2 separate regions of the Homo sapiens genome follow, and region 2 is linked to region 1. The links are contacts of gene promoters, found by promoter capture Hi-C in blood cells and fetal thymus (Javierre and others, 2016). All regions are on one chromosome and are shown on one strand. Each heading gives the region's core, a stretch centred on a gene start or on the middle of the fragment in contact. The rest is flanking DNA. Distances are from core to core; before and after follow the strand shown.

Evidence for each region. The method cuts DNA at HindIII sites, captures the fragments that hold promoters and counts their contacts. A CHiCAGO score of 5 or more calls a contact.
Region 2: a fragment that was not itself captured here is called in contact with the fragment with the promoter of C1orf21 in region 1 in 2 of 17 cell types (megakaryocytes and M1 macrophages); the score reaches 5.4 in megakaryocytes.

Annotation. Positions count from the first base shown.
Region 1 is chr1:184,385,727-184,388,426 of GRCh38, reverse strand. C1orf21 (chromosome 1 open reading frame 21) reads right to left here and starts at 1,398. Exons shown (of 6, transcript NM_030806.4): 1 at 1,059-1,398. It overlaps C1orf21-DT (C1orf21 divergent transcript), which reads left to right and starts at 1,723. Exons shown (of 1, transcript NR_172919.1): 1 at 1,723-2,674. RefSeq lists silencers at 1,363-1,622, 1,653-1,762, 1,853-1,912. The HindIII fragment of the contact is 4,352 bases long and covers 1-2,700 here.
Region 2 is chr1:184,487,866-184,490,567 of GRCh38, reverse strand. The region is part of intron 2 of C1orf21 (chromosome 1 open reading frame 21); the gene reads right to left. Among named protein-coding and RNA genes, the nearest start is that of C1orf21, 100 kb to the right of the region's middle. The HindIII fragment of the contact is 6,704 bases long and covers 1-2,702 here.

The sequences.
Region 1 (2,700 bases), core at 149-2,648:
CACCGGCAATGGAAGAGATCCCATAGGTCACCGACTTCCTATTGAAAACAAATTATTTCTCTCTCAAACTGCTTGCCGTCTCTCAGAATTAATGCGTGTTTATGTGTGCATATTTTTATCTTTGGCCATGCAACTCTTGGAGCAAAGAGGACCACCCCAAATTTTACCGACATGCCTGAGCCATTCAGAGCTTTAGAAGAGAAATGAACGAGTGCTGAGAGCCCTTAAGCCCAGGACTTCTCTCACACAAACAGTAAGTGGAAAGGAAAAAACAAAAACAAAAACAAAAACTAACCCTCCGTAGAGGGAGGGAGCAGGGTGGATGATAGGGAAAGGACATTAACCAGCAGACCAAAGGCAGCCGCGGCGGCGGCACTTCGCGAACTGCCTGCAGAGGAGAGTGAAATCTGTTTCGTGTACAATAACCAAGCACCCTCTGGCTGCCTCGCATGGGCACGAATAATAAATACACCGAGGTGGGCAAACAGATGCAACGAAACGAGCCACCCCAAAAAGGTCAAAACTTCAGAAATCCCGGGGGTCAAACCACCCACACAAACACATCAATCAGTCGGAGCGAGAGAAGGGACTTGGATACTTAGCAAAGGATCCTAAATTGTGTTTTTCCTTTCAAGCTCTGGCTTGCAAAGTACGGTGGCTACATGCAAAGCTAGAGGAGAGCAGGAAGGCTGAGGGCGGCAGGGTGCGGGTGGGAAGGGAGGGGTGTCTAACACCAGCCACCCAGGCCTCGATGTGACGAAAGTCGTCAGCAGCCCCGACCACATCCCAGCCCCTCCGCCCAGGCCGGCAGACGCCCCTCGCGGCTCCCCCACCCCAGCTTCCGTCCCTGGCAGCAACCCCGCCAGCCCCGCACCAGCAGCAGCCCCGGCCCGGGCCCCGCGCAGGCAGCGCCACGACCGCGGCTCCCATCCCTTCCGTGCGGCAGACACCCCGCAGGCCTCCCTCCCTGCCCACCCGGGGATGCCCGGGTAGCCGAGCCGGGGCGGGCTGCACCGCCAGCTCCCCCCGCCCCAGAGCAGGCAATGGCTCACACTTACCTTGGGCGTTCGCGGGGGGGCTGAAGGTGGCAAGCCTCCCGCCCCCCGCCCCTGTCCTCCTCGTCTTTTTTCTTCCTCCCTCCTCCTCTTCTTCCTCCTCCTCCCCACAGTGTGTCCGGGGCTCCCCCTCCTCCCCGCCGCTTGGAGTAAGAACCCAAAACCCCGAAGCCGGGCCCGCGTGCAAGCGTGCGGGAGGCGGCGGCGCGCGGCCAGCTCTCCAGTAACTGAGCGCGGCGCGCAGCTCCCAACTAAAGTGTGAAAGAAGCAGCGGCCGCGGCGGCCGCGGCACGGAACGTCCCCCCGGGAGTGGGCAGGGAGCGAGCGGGAGCTTGCGAGGAGCGAGCGAGGGAGGGGAGCTCCTCGCTCAGTCACTCACTCGAGGGGCGGGGGCAGCAGACACTCCCCCACCGCCGGCCCCTCCCCGAGCCTAGCTCCCGCGCGCGCCTGGCTCTCCTCCCCGGGGCGGGGCCTGCGGAGGCCGCCGGGGCGCAGCGCGCTGGGGAGCGGGTTGGGGGCTGCTAGGGCTGCGGGGCGGGAAGGAGGCGGCAGTGTGTGTGTGTGTGTGTGTGTGTGTGTGTGGGCAGGTGTGTGTGTGTGTGTACGTGTGTGCGCGCGCGCCCTGCAGCGGCCGGCCAGCCGGAGGGAAGACCCCGGCGGGAAGACTGCGTCCCGTCCGGCCTTCCCGGGCCTGTCACTTGGGCGGTGGCGTGGGAGCGGCGAGGCTGCTCGGGGGGCAGCCGGGTGGGCCCAGCTCTAGGGGAGATTCGGGTCAGCCCCTGAGCCCAGCCTCCCGGCTGTGCCTGCTGGAAGCAGACGGAGGGAAGGCCGGGCGTCTTTGGCCCACCGCGCGGCCGCTCCCCTCCCGGGCCAGGCTGAACGGGCGGGCGCAGCCCAGAGGCCCGGGCTCTGCCACCGATCCGCCTCCATACTGACCCGAGCTGCGGCGCCTGCAAGATTAATGAAGCATCCGCGATTCGGTAGAGGCGGCACGGGGAGGAAAGACACAAGATCGTGCTGCCCCCCTCTCCCCACCCTTCTCAGCCTCCTAGGACCTAAAGGCGTAGGCTGCGTCTGCTGGGCGCGTCCGGAGTGGTCCAGAGAGATCGCCATCCACCACTGCATCCGTCCAGTTCTTTGTGGACCCTCACAGAAGCTCAATCAATTTCCCACCCTCTGGAAAAGGGTATTTTTCTCTTCCCTGGCATATTGGGTGTTTCTTGTGTGCACCTAATTGATCTTTTTCCATTGATAGCCTTTGGATGTCTTTTGTGCGGCTTCCCCGCGCTTCACTGCTCCCTCATTGCCTTAGACACGCGAGGAATGTCAGGCCCCCAGAGTGAGAACACCCAAGAAAACAATAGGGGCAAAAGATCCTCCCTGGGCCTCGCGGATTATGCACAAACCAGATCATTTCCCACATTCGGCCAGGGTGAAGATGGAAAATGGAAAAGAACGCCATCAGAGTGGTGACACTGACGAGAAAAGCCAATTCATAATTTAGTTTAATGAAATGAGTTAGTAATCAACCACTAATGTCTAGGAAATTGGCCTTTTTTGAAAACTGGTTTTCCCTTTCTCCACCCCTTTTTTTTTCAAATTAAAAGACTAGTATCCCACTGTTGTTGTTTTAATTTTTATTGTT
Region 2 (2,702 bases), core at 161-2,660, 100 kb before region 1:
GATTCTCTAAAGTTATGTCTCCACCAGTTGGTTAAAGTTTCCCAGTCTCCCCTGCTATATTGTATGTGTGGTGTACCTCTAAGCCTTTGTTCTCACTGACTCTCAGCCTAAACCTCCTGCTCTGTCTCACTTAGTTCCTTTGGCTGGTATTCATATTTTAAGACTCAGCTGAGGCTTTAATCATCCTCTTTACAAGTCTTCCCCCACTCCTTGGAAAAAGAGACCTTTTGCCTTATCACCCTATGGTACTGACATTTTCTGTCAAGATGTCCATCTATTGCATCTTTACCAGTTCCTTAAAGGCAGGGACCAGGTTTAACCCGTCTTTACAGCCTCCGTGCCTAGCACAGCACCTAATTCATGCAAGGTAGTCAACGAGTGCTTCTTAGGATGAAGTGAAATGCTAGGTTTTAAATGAAACCAACAAGTGCCAGTCATCAGACTCCATCTGTATGCCTGGGCTAACATTTCTATCAGTCAGATCCCTGTTGCCCTGGGGCTATTTCCAGTGATAGTGCTTTCTCCTCTGGGATAGATTTCACCATTGCCCTGAAAACACAACTAAAGGCCTTCTGGAGATGGAAACATTTGAATTATATTTATCAAAATAAACAGTTGTAGTGAATGATAAATGTTAAACATAAAAGATTCAAGACACACAGAAAAATACAAAGAAGAAATTAAGAATCACCTGAAACTTCACAATAAAGAGACTGCCATCGTAAAAGTTTTGGTGAATGGCCTTTCAAACACTTCTTTTATGCACTCACACAGAATTTTACATATATTTTAAACAAGTAAAATTTACAAACAAGATATGCTGCATAAAATCCCTTTACTAATTTCACTTAATAATCTGTCACAAACCTTTTGCCATATCAATAAATATAGAATACCTTGATCTCTAATGGCTCTATTCCATGCATGTTTCATCAGTGAGAAAGACCCTTGAACACACAGGTTTGCACACTTGTCCAATTACGTTCCTAAGATAAATTCCTAGCACTGGGTCTCCTGGGGCAAAGGGCATGCTCATTTACATTTTTGATATATGTTACTATTTTGTGCCCCAGAAAAATTGTTCTGCGTTGACATTCTCCATTATAGCATGAGACAGATGCCACCTGTTCCTGCCCAATCTGAAGGGTAAAAAATGTTTTGTTTTGCTTTGGGTTTTTTTGCTGGTTTGTTTTTTTGGTTTATTTTATTACTGAGAAGTAGAATATCTTTCTGTACTCTTTTGTCCCTTTATATTTTTTCTCTTTTGAATTGCCTGGCCATGAACTTTGTCCATTTTTCAATTGGTATGTTAGTTCTTTCCTTACAGATTTTGAAGGGTCTTTTTCTATTAGTCATATTAACTTCAGTTGTATTGCAAATATTATTCTCAGTTTGACATTTGTCTTTTGACTTAGTTTATGGTAGTTTACTTTTTGCCAATCAAAATTTTAGATTTTATATAATCACAGTTTATCACAAACTTTTTCTTTTGGTATTGGGTTTTGTAGCATTAAGAGAAAGACATTTTGCAACCTAAGATTATAAATATACTCACTTGCGTTTTTTGTAGTACTTTTACAGTTTCTTTTCTTTTCTTTTTCTTGAGACAGAGTCTCGCTCTGTCGCCCAGGCTGGAGTGCAGTGGCATGATCTTGGCTCACTGCAACCTCCGCCTCCTGGGTTCAAGCAATTCTCCCGCCTCAGCCTCCCAAGTAGCTGGGACTACAGGCGCACGCTGCCACATCTGGCTAATTTTTTGTATTTTAGTAGAGACAGGATTTCACCGTGTTGCCCAGGCTGGTTGCGAACTCCTGAGCTCAGGCAACCTGCTCGCCTCGGCCTCCCAAAGTGCTGGGATTATAGGCGTGAGCCACTGTGCCCAGCCTACAGTTTCTTATTTGACAGTTAAATTTTTAGATTAATCTGAAAAATTCTAATATGAAGAGATAAATTGGGGGATTTCATTTTTAATATTATAATCACAAATAACAGAATATCTTCAAAGAATAAAATGTGAATTGAAATGGTACCCAATTAATTGGTATATCTTTTTATTTCAGCTGCTTATGGATGCATTTATCCCATTACAATCACTGGGGCATCATCTGTGTCTGCTGCCTCTAGCCCTCTCATGGTGCTTTACTCCTTACTTCTACCAACATCTCACTCTGCATGATAAACAAGACACACACACTCATGTATAGATTTATGGTTGATAAGCAAAAAATGTATTTGTTAACCTCTATGGTGGGATTTCTTTTAAACTACACTTTGAAAGAAATGAGGCATAATATTATATTCATCATTCCTGAATCATGCATGTCCTTTGGTCTTTTCATTTAAAAGACAAATATTCACGTATACATCTTACACAGTACAGAAACTGGTCTAGGTCAAACCAGAGAAAGAACAAACCATAGGAACACACATATCTTAAAATCTAAAAGAGATAAGTATTACATGGACAATTGATCATCTTTTAAGTTTAGAGAATTATACATCTACAAATAAACTGATGACGCATTCTCCTCCAGCGTAATCAGAGGAAACCAAGCAACCATTTTCAGAAATGCAAACTGCATAGGTCAGAGGTCTGCGCAACTGCAGGCTGCTAATATGATGATGAGCATACTAACTCAGTGCTTATCATGTGCCAAGTACTATGCTAAGATTTACAAATATTAATACATTTTAGTCTCACA